Regions from separate parts of the Homo sapiens genome. Here region 1 is linked to region 2. The links are contacts of gene promoters, found by promoter capture Hi-C in blood cells and fetal thymus (Javierre and others, 2016). All regions are on one chromosome and are shown on one strand. The core of a region is centred on a gene start or on the middle of the fragment in contact, and the rest is flanking DNA. Distances in the headings are between cores, read along the strand shown.

Evidence for each region. The method cuts DNA at HindIII sites, captures the fragments that hold promoters and counts their contacts. A CHiCAGO score of 5 or more calls a contact.
Region 1: a fragment that was not itself captured here is called in contact with the fragment with the promoter of STXBP5L in region 2 in 1 of 17 cell types (total CD4 T cells); the score reaches 5.0 in total CD4 T cells.

The regions. Positions count from the first base shown.
Region 1 is chr3:120,499,448-120,504,893 of GRCh38, forward strand. LOC107986121 (a long non-coding RNA gene) reads left to right here. Exons shown (of 3, transcript XR_001740868.2): 2 at 59-132. Among named protein-coding and RNA genes, the nearest start is that of FSTL1, 51 kb to the left of the region's middle. RefSeq lists an enhancer at 719-1,288. The HindIII fragment of the contact is 1,631 bases long and covers 2,206-3,836 here.
Region 2 is chr3:120,906,359-120,912,084 of GRCh38, forward strand. STXBP5L (syntaxin binding protein 5L) reads left to right here and starts at 1,847. Exons shown (of 27, transcript NM_001308330.2): 1 at 1,847-1,976; 2 at 3,213-3,409. The coding sequence starts at 3,221. LOC105374069 (a long non-coding RNA gene) reads right to left here and starts at 1,735. Exons shown (of 6, transcript XR_924399.4): 1 at 1,671-1,735. RefSeq lists a silencer at 1,679-1,918. The HindIII fragment of the contact is 9,292 bases long and covers 1-4,854 here.

The sequences.
Region 1 (5,446 bases), core at 1,771-4,270, 410 kb before region 2:
CTGAATTCTCAGTATTCTCTCCTGTCACATCATTCTTTTCTTTTCTTTTTTTTTAAAGATCAGATGTATTTGGAGAAAACAAAAAACCCACAACCCAAAGGATGGGATTTCACATCTCAAGACATCTCCCAGGTAATAAGTCTACAGATTACAAATCATTTTCATAGAAAATATTTTTGTACAAATTATACAGGTATTCAGGAGCTGGGTCATTAATCAATCCCCATTTCTATTTTAACAGGGGGGCAAGGTAGGGGAGAGGGAAAAACAGTTTTGGATACAACTATTTGGAAGGAGAGTAGATATGAAGAGGGCAAACCCTAGTTTTTCATTACCTACAATCAATGTTTTTTTTCTTTAAAAAAAAATCTTTCAATCTTCAGTATCTCTTTAAAAGCCCACTTCTTACCTACTAGCCAATCCACCCCAATTATTTAAATTCACTTGGTACACACCTTTGTCCACCAGGTAAATTATATTCATTATGCCCACTGCTGCAGCACACATAAACCAACACCCCTGCATGGCTGAACAGGGCCTAATCTAGGACTGATGGGAGAAGTGCTTGCAAACCAAGATCAAGGTGTCATTTCTCTGCTAATACTGTCTACCAAGCTGATCCCTACAAAAACGCACATAAAAGCAGGCAAGTTTAGCTACTGTGTTGCAAGAGAAACCAGGACCTTGTTAAATAGTTCTCTCCATTACCATTTATTCTCTCAAGGGAAGCTTAAAAAAAAAAAAGAAAAAGAAAAAGAAAAAACAACGCATTGGTCTGGCCACCTCATAAATCCCACAAGCATTGGTGTGGCATTTCAGTGGAGAAGGAAACTTGGGGTGGGGAAAAACCCATTAAGGTTGTAAAAAAGGCTCCCAATTTAACTGTCCCTGTCCCTATTTATCCACCTTTATTCACCACCCAAGACCATTCATTACCCTAGAGCCCTCTGATCTATAAAAGGGGTCAAAGCATCAGGAGCAGGGAAGGAGTGAGAACCAAAAGACATCAAGAAACTGATTTGCTTGAGAAAAGCAGCGATTCTTCCTTTCATAGCTCTCCATGGCTGAGAGAGAAAATGCCCAAGAGATCATCTATGTGACTTAGAGACTGCTTTTTGGGACGTCAAGAGTAGCATGAAGAACTTAAGATAATGACAAGAGCCTAAATATTTAAAGTTTCAAGGTTTCAACAGAATGTGGATGTATTTGAACTTTCAAAAATGTCCTGTCACATCTTTCTTCCCATTACCTGGAGCTCCTCCTTTTCCCAGGCATTCATATTTCTTACCTCCTCCCCACCCGCTGCACAAATTTGATTGCATGAAGGATAAGGGGGCAGCATTTCTTTCTGCTTCTGGTCCTGGTTGCCCAGGTTGCATGGTATAGGGAAGGAGGCAGCAGAAACTCTAGGCCACAGAGGTGTGGCTGGCTGCTCTAGGGTGGTGAGATACAAGAGACTGCAGGTGCTTGGTGCCCATATCATGGAGTTAAGGAGCCCCAGGTCAGTGAGGGAAGAGTAAAGTGAGGAAGAGTAGGGATGGGAGAGAAAAGGTTAATAACGTGAGCAAGATCAGCTGGATATAACAGTCTAAGTTGGAAGTTTTTTTTCCTTCACGACTTTAAAGACTGCTTTCTCCATTGCTTTGTAGCATTTAGAGTTGCTGCTGAGAAGTCTCATAGTGTTATTCTTTTTGATAATCTGAGTTTTCTTCCTGTCACATGTAAGATTTCCTCGTACTCTTTATGTTCTAAGTCTCATTACAATGCTCCTAGGTGGGAATTTATTTTTATTTATTCTTCTGGTATCAAGAGAGAACTTTCAATCTGAGATTTATGTCTTTTGAACTGGATAATTCTTAGGACAAAAGCTCTCATGTTAAGCATCTTATGTTCCTTCTCTGTCATTCTTTTCATTCTCTTTTTCTGGATCCATATGCATGTAACCACTCATTCATATATTTGAACTCTTTGTCTTTCTGTGTTGAATTTGGTGTGAACTCCTCCTTATGATCTTCCCATTCACCAGAACTTCCCTTACTGAGTCTAGAGTTCATTCCATCTATTAAGTATTTTTTAAAATATCAAGGGCTATATTTCTATTTGGTTATTTTTGCATATTTATCTCTTCTCGCTTTATTTTTGCCTATTTTAGTTCCATGACGGCTAGTTCTTTTTATAATCGTTATTCTCTTATGGGTTTCTTTAAGCTTCCTTGTTTTAACCAATATGTCACACTGTTCATTAAAGTTAATTTCCTTCTGGAGTGAGTTCATGTTCTGAATGAATTTGTGTTCTGAATTCATGTTCTGATTTCATATTTTATTGAGTATATTTTTTTCAGGATTAGATTTCGTGAATTTTGCAATTTTGATTTGCAGGTTTATTTTAAAATGTTTTTTGTTGTTTTCAGTCTTTTTGTCTCTCCTCTGTCCCTGTGACTGTTTCTCTAAATCCAGTGGTTTTGTGGGTGTCTTTTCACCCGGCTTTCTGGAATTCCATGTCAGAACCAGGTGCTATAAATGCAGCTCAAGGCTCTAGGTCATGACAATGTCACAGATATCTCAGGTCCAGTCACCAAGCCAACATGTGGCTTGGGTCTTTTTCTGGTTTCAAGACTGCATCTGTATCCTCACACCTCCCTGGGCCCACAGATTCCATAAGTCATAGCTCGGTCTAAGAGCAATGCTTCAAATTCAGGTCCCTTTTCTCAGGTGGAGTAGTAGACTTCCCGTCACCCAGCCACCGCCACCTGATTCTGGACCTGGAGCCAGCAGGCCCGTGGCTTCAGCCCAACTCACTCTTTTGTATTCTATTGCTTATTCTCATCATGGAAATAATCATCTTTTTTTTTTTGTCTTGAACTCTGCAATGTCATCATTTTTTTGTTTTTTTTTTCTAGTTTATCCATCTTTGCCATGTGCTTGGGGAAGAATGGCAATGCGAAAGTGTGAGCTTCCCGTCCCAGCTTATTAGAAGCCCACAGCTGTTTTTAAAAAATCTACCTTTCCGGCTGGGTGCAGTGGCTCACACCTGTAATCCCAGCACTTTTGGAGGCTGAGGAGGGCGGATCACAAGGTCAGGAGATCGAGACCATCCTGGCTAACATGGTGAAACCCCGTCTCTACTAAAAAATACAAAAAATTAGCCAGGCGTGGTGGCGGGCACCTGTAGTCCCAGCTACTTGGGAGGCTGAGGCCGGAGAATGGCGTGAATCCGGGAGGCAGAGCTTGCAGTGAGCCGAGATCGCGCCACTGCACTCCAGCCTGGGCAACAAAGGGAGACTCCATCTCAAAAAAAAAAAAAAAAAAAAAATCTACCTTGCCATGCTTTCCCTTTTCTGTGACTGTTAATTAGTACATAGGCCATGGGCTGTCATGCTTAAAAACTGAATGGGAATTTTGTCTTTAGCAGTGTTAGGACGACTGGCTGATTATAAAAATAATAGGAGCCGGGCACAATGGTTCACACCTATAGTCCCAGCACTTTGGGAGGCTGAGGCAGGAGGATTGCTTGAGGCCAGGAATTTGAGACAAGCCTGATCAACATAGTAAGACCCCATCTCTATATTAAACAATAAAAATAATAATAATAGGTCATGGTTTTCCCTGTCAAGGGTCAAACTGTTCTTACTGAACAAGAGCTCTCTGAATTGAGTTGCAAATTCTGTGGTTCCTCAAGATTTACATACAGAAAAAGCCAAGTATATTCCCTCAAGATTTTTAAAAAGATATGTAATCACGGGATTTTAGAGCTCAAAGGAATATCAAAGGTCTTATATTATAGGCCCCTCATTTCTGGATCTGCAAGAAGAAACAGAAATTAAAGGTCTTGCTCCAAGCTTCATGGTATACTGGTAGCAAAGCTAGAGCTGGTTGGGTTCTTCTAGATTGGTATTTCTCCAACAAAATCATCCACAGCATATATCAAAAGTGATATAACTAGGAGGCTTGATAAATGATTTCTACTTAATGTTTAATTATTTACAAAGCAAAGGTATTTTACACCCAGGTTCCTTAAGGTCTCAGTTTCAATCTGCTGTGTTTTTTAAATAAAAATATGTGCATACCAGCATTTTTTTGCTCCAGATAGAAAGCTGAATTTAGCCAGTATGCTCCTTAGTCCATCTATCACATGGCAGTAACCTATTAAGTGTCTAATTTAGATAAATGTAAGAGATTTAAAAAAATAAGAGTAGATAAAATAATAGAAGTATTATGTATTTCAGGGTCCATAGACACAAGCATCAAAAGCTGACTCCGGCTGATTAGTCAAAAAAGTAATTTATTACAAGGATTTTGTGTAGCTCACAAACTTGTTGGGAAGGCCAGAGAACCAGACCTGAGGACAAACTTTCGGAAATGGCTCAAAACTTTAGAACTGGCCTGTTGAGAAAAATCAGTACTGCTCCAAGCACTGACCACTAGATGATACATGAACTAGATGCTTGCAGCAATTTGACTTTACTGAAGCTACGACTGCCCCAGCATCACCGCCATTTCTGATGTGAAGACACCCTCCGCAGTATGTAGGTGCTGTTTCAGTCTTACCTCTGCTGACCCTGAAAGCCAGTCACCCCTCTCACAATCCTCAGCAGCACAATGAATTCTGCCTAAAGCTTCTTTCTTCAAGCAAGGCTCTGCTGTGCTTGGATAATGCTAATTGGGGGACTCTCATTCACAAGCTAATGAGCTAGCTGCAATTGAGGGGCTGGGGAAACAAATTTTCTATCTGGGAAAAACAGGGCTTTAAATATGGAGATTTACCCAAATGCAGCAACAATGTTCATGTACCAAGCAACTAGGAAGGTTACCAATGAATTGCCAAGCACATAAAGGAGTTAAGGTGTCCATGAACGGAGGTAAGATCATCTACTGAGCTAGACAGTCTCCATTTACCCTTCTAAACCCTTGCTCCACCCTTCTCCACTCTACACAATGCCCTTGAAGGCTGAAGGCTGACTACATGGTCTGCATCAACCAGCTTTCTTGCCCTCTGCCTCCAGCTGGGTTTGGCCAGTGGGAGGGGCTGGCAGGAGCTGGGAAGGTGGCAGAAGGATGAGGTTTGGGCATTTAGTTTCCTCCTGGCTGGGTTGCAGGTTGTTTCTCTCCTGACAGCCCCTATTTGGTGGCCCCCTCCTACAGCTGCCCCTCCTCTCTCCTGCCCTTCAGGCCCGGTGGTTCCCACTAGGAAACCCTGGGACACTTACCCCATCCCTTGGGTTTTCCCTTACCCTTCACTACACCTGGTAAATAGTTTATTTTAAATTCTCTCAATAATCCCATTTGCATGTACTATCAGTTCCCTGCCAGAATGCTGGAGTATATTCACCTTCACTGTGACAAATGCTCAGATCTTATTTTCTCCTGTCCTCAATTAAAGTACTGGAATATATTTCCTTTTGTTTTCTTCTCAAACGCAGATCACTGATTAATTGAATTAGAAGAAG
Region 2 (5,726 bases), core at 597-3,096:
GAATTGGGGCTATTCTCCTTCTTCGCTCCCATCAAAATGTCAAACCACTACTTGCTATAGGCTTGCTTTCATTTATTAGAAAAATGAAAACTCAGCCACTTTATTATAACCCTCCTTGCCTCTGTTTTTAAAAAGAAAAGACAGACATAAAACAAGGAAAGCAAACTCTTTATCCTTAACTAGCGTCCATACTTTGAGGTGAGCAATGGGCCAGGAAGAAGAGAAGAAAAAAGGTGGAAAAGAGTAAAAAGATACCTGTTGTTAGGGACCCAATACAGAATTTGGAACCCTACCAAGATCTAGTTTGTGTCAGACATATCACTTATTTCCACCATTATTTTTACCCCTTTCAAACATTATGTAATTGGGTACCAACTCATATATCTTTAATAAAAAATATTAATAAACCAACTCTTCAGAACCCTTTACGTGCCTATTTTAAGTGAAATATTGTGCCTGGTGCTAAATAATCTAGGAGAAATATACAATTCCATGCTTGCCTTCAAGAAGGTTACTGTCTAGCTGTGGCAATGAGAGACTACCAGCAGTGTAGGGAGTCCCAAAAGGAGTGAAATAGTCATTCAGGACAGAAAGATTCAACGTTGAGCTGAGGATCTGAAAAACTGAGCTCTATTTCATCTTTACCATTTCTTTGCTATGTCCTTGGACAAGTCATCATCCTTCAAGTCTCCTGCTTCCTCCTTCCCACTCTCTCCCTTGATTGAGAGAAAAGAGAGAGAGAGAAGAGGAGAGGTGAAAAAGAAGAAAAAGAAGAAAAGAAAAAAAGAGGTCAAAGATTGTAAGATGTAAGACAATATTTGAAATGATCACTAATGAGTTCTGTTGTGATGCCCAAATTGAAGTCTCAGTTAGCTGTGACCCGCTGAACTGCCATTCATTTCGCAAAGACATCGGGGTCCAAATTTTCCCGAAGTCAATAGCAGGTGAGGGCTCAGAACCAAATCTATCCTGATACAGTTTTTTTTTCTGCACTGAATAATACATCTTTCAAAATGATTATTGTGACTCACAGAAATAGCTTAAAATATATTCTTGATACGGTTTACAGAGTGAGAAATATTTCTTTAAAGAAATTAAATATCTTTGTATATGTGAGGATGATGGGGAAGGAGTAATTCTACTTACTAGAGAGCAAGGTAAGCAATCAATTCCTTAGGCTCTAGAAGGCTATATATTCTGAAACTGTTGAAATACAATTCTCCTTGGCAGATACGAACCATTAAGCCATTATTGGTAACAGCAGGGGTTAATCACAGATACAAGTTGAGTGCAGGTAGCAGGAGAGTGATGGGAGCCAGATAGATGCTCCTGAAGACCGGGAAGAGGCTCGCAGAAGTGAAAAGGTGCAAAACACTTGCTCAGTTCACCATACTGTCCAGAGCCATACCTAAGGTAAGCAACGCTTCCCGCATCCTCAGACTCCAGGCGTCCAAATTCGCACGCTTGCAGGCATTCTATTGATTCACACTTGAGTCCTTCAACAGGTAGCGCCAATTACATCCCCCAGAGCACGACCCCCAGCATACTGGCCAATACCGCTGTCAATCAAATACCTCACCTACTTCTCTAAATTCCCCCCTCCCACTGTCATTGGCTTTACCTTCGGCCTATCCACAGATTTCTTCTGCCCTGGAGACCACAGAACTTACCCTATCGAATCTAGGATTGGCGCCGAAGCTACTCCCGCCCTTTGACGTCCCCGGGCACCCCGCCCCCTTCACCTCCCAGCTTTGCCGGGGAAGAAGCAGGGCGGGGCAAGCTAGGGGCCGGCCCGGGGGCGGGGCCTGCCTCCCACGGCGGGAGGGCGGAGCCTGCTCTGGAGCCTGACTGCTCGGTTAGGACCTCGGAGAGCGCCAGGCGCCGCGACCAGAGGGCCCAGAGAAGCGGCCGGAGCCCGCCTACCTCGGCCCCCTCAGCTTCCCGGGCTGGCAGGCGGCTAGAGGCGTCTGAGGAAGGTGCCTAAGTCCTGGGTCAGATAGTCATCCCTCTGGGACGCCGCCGCCGCTGCCGCCGTCCAGCTGTGGCTCCCTCGCACCTGTGTGTGTCTGTGTGAGTGTGTGTGTGTGTTTGAGAGAGAGAGAGACAGAGAGAGACAGAGACAGAGAGCGAGCGCACCAGCGCGCGAATGCCCGTGTGAGGGTGTTTGTGTGTGTTCTGGCTGGGAGCGCGAATGCCTCGGCGTGAGGTGTTTGTGTGTTCGCGCGCCCGCGGGCGGGCGAGAGCCCCGCGCCTCAGCGCTGGGCCTGGGGGAGGGACAGCGGGAGCGGCGGCTCTGCGCGCCCAGCAGGCTGAGGCGGGACTCGGGCCGCAGCCGTCGCCGCCACCGCTTCACGTCCCCCGAGAGCGGCTGCCGTGCAGCGGGGAGAGCGGACGGCGGGCGGGCGAACAGGCGGGAGAGCGCGGCGGCGGCTGCGGGCAGAGGTGGAGGGAGGGGAGCAGGAGATGGGGAGAGGGGGGAAAGAGGACGCGGGGAGGGAGATGAGGGGGAGGTGAGGGGGAGGCGGAGGGACAAGTGGAAACAGACGGTGTCGCCGTTCTCCTCCTCCCCCCCTCCCCGGCAGCTGTTGCTGTGGGTCACTCGCAGATGTTTTGGGGTCCGGGCTGCTGGGGGATGGGGACTAGAAAAAGTACCCCCCTCCCCGCCTTTCATAGTGACAAAAAAGGAAGCGTTGAAGCTGATGGGGGAAGAGCCCGGAAGGTGGTGGCAGAGTAAATACCGGCTCCCCCAACGTCGTTTTTCTGAAAATAAAATACTCTGAGCCGAACGTTTCGAAGAAGGAAAGTCCGCCCTTAAGAGAGAGACAGAGTCTTGGTCTGTTGAACTCTGGTTTGATTGTATAATAATGATGATATAATGCTAATGACGATGATGACACTGCCTTTTATTTTTACCCCAGTGCTGATAAAGCGTAGTTACAGCTGGGGATACAGTCCTTGAAAATCTGATGTGTGAGGAGGGAATACTGTTGCTTTTGGAGTTGTGTTATATTTATCTTTTTTTAAAAAGGATATGCTTTTTAGAATTAAAATTTGGCAAAACGAATCCTGACTCTTTTTTTCCAGTCGGTCGTAACCAATGCTCATAAAATGGGGACTGACTTGACTAATGAAAAGAGAAAGGCTTTTACCAAGGTCTAATTGCACGTGTTAAGTCACCTCTTTCCCTTTTTTTCCTTTGTATTTCTCAACAGTGTTTAAAATGAAGAAGTTTAATTTCCGAAAAGTTTTGGATGGCTTAACTGCCTCCTCCCCTGGCAGTGGTAGCAGCAGTGGCAGTAACAGTGGTGGTGGGGCTGGAAGTGGTTCCGTACATCCGGCGGGGACTGCAGGGGTTCTCAGAGAGGAAATTCAGGAAACTTTGACTTCGGAGTATTTCCAGATTTGCAAGGTAAGTTTTGAATTGGCTTAAAGCCTATTATTTCTTTATTATACTGTTGTAAGGAAACAAGGGGGGAAAAACATACCAGGAACAGGAAACTGTTGAGATGTCAGCATCAGAGTCTGCTGCAGAAAGCTCTGTGGGTAGATCAGTTTGGCTTAATAGATATTTTAGGCGTCAACTTAAAAAGCAATGATAGTTTAAGTGGGAAATGAGCACACACAAAAAGTAGAATTTGCAAGATAATGTTAAGATCCAATAGTGGACAAAATTTTTAATATTTGTGTATTATATTAACTGAAGAAGCAAATAGTCGTTTGGTTTTTTGTGTTATCAGAGAAAATATTGTTATTTCACTGTTCAGTATGAAATGAATAAAGCTACTAGCATGTTGCTAGGATTAAGTAGATAATAGGAAAATATGTTCATTTTAAGGGGGCCAATGACATTGCTTTAAAATTCCGAATAAAAACACCTTCACATTCTTAAACTCTTCATAAATACACAAACAGACAAATGCACAGGCTTATAAGAACTTGCAGTTGTAGGAACTCAAAAATAGCGGGTGTTCTGGTTTAGTAAGAAAACATTTTATGTAATTATACTTTGATATTGAACTTCTAATGAATATGCAAAAGAGAGTTTCTGGTAGGTAGAGAAGATGAGAGTTTATAAAACAAGCATTAGGTTAATGCATAGAGATATTGTTATTGCTATATTTGTTATATTTTATGACATAAAGTGATTTATAATTTTATTGCCCTTTTTTGAGTTGTCTTGGAATGTGCCTATTATATGCAACAAAGGCTACTAAGTTATTTATGTCATATAAATGAATATAGTTTTGTAAATGTGTTTGGCTACATAAGAAATAGAAAAATTGCAAAATTACAGAAATTAACAATTTTTAAAAATACTTTCACAAAAGAAAAGTTTTTTGAAATTATTAAAATTATATTTGTGGTAAACAAGTGATATATGTATAATGAGGTATATTTCAATCACTGTCTCAGCCTATATTCCTAGCAGGGTCATTATAAAAACATTAAATCTATAGTTATTAGTTTACATAAAAGCAAGTTTATTTAGAGTTAATTTAGATAAACAGATTTAATTCTAAGCTACTTTGTGAAATTTGTGTACAGTAATAATTTTTTTCCTCAATAGGAAATAACAGATATTCTGTTCGATGAGGGAAGGTCTTAACAGTGGTTATGAGACAAATGTAAAAGAGTCCTGGAGTTCAAATTTGAACTGCTAGGCAGGGGAATTATGCCCTGATTCTCTAATCTTTGATGTGTTTGCAATTTTCACGATCAGATTCTGAAAATTTTTTCCAAATTCTCTCAATTCATGTATATGACAGTGATACAGGAGAATTTTACCAGAGGTAAAACTGGTATAGGAAAGATAGACTTCTGAAACAGAATGGCATTGGGCTGTTGAGGTCATAAAGCTTGTAGAGAAGGTTTTAAATAAAAAACTTCAGGGAAATGGGTGAATGCAAGAGATAATGGAATACATAGTTATCTTCCCATTTATTCAGGCAAGAGATAGTCATAGGAAGTACCAGAAGTTAAATACATACTACTTTAAAAACATATGGCATGGTAGGAAGAGCACTGGCCTAGGAATCAGAAAATTTGTGTTTTATTTAAAGTTCTGCTAGTTGACAGCCATATACTCTTGGGTAAGCCATTTATCTCCCTTGAGCCTTGATTTCTGCATCTGCAGTGTAGGAATAAGTGTATCTGCTCTCCTTAACTAAGAGACGGTTATTGGGAGGATCAGACAGAATAAGGTGAAGGTAATGCATAAATGGAAAGGATGATAAAATATATACGAATATTATTGTTAAAGTTTGTAAAATCACGTGTTCATAGTAGAGCGAATATAACTAGTGGGTTATAATAATATTAGCTTATGATTTCCAAATAAATTATAAGATAGATAGCTATATAAGTTGTCCACTAACAGTACTGAAGTCTTACTAAATGTGGAAAATACTGTAACATCTTTGGATAGGAATATAGTTAATTTTAAAAAATAGTTATATGGATGTATTATAATTACCTGGTCTATAACAAAACATATAAAAATGGACTAAGGAAATCCCAAAATTAGACCGTTACTGAAATGGGGACTTTATTTAGACTCATAGACTCCCTGATTAAATGTGCAAAAAAATTTCTCTTCTGAGTTCTAAGGAGCTGTCATATTCTGGGTGCTTCTACCTTTTCAACATGGGCAAAACTAAAGTATAAATCTAGACTTGGCTGTTTGAAAGCCTCCTCTCTTCTATCTGATTAGTCATCACATCCCCTCT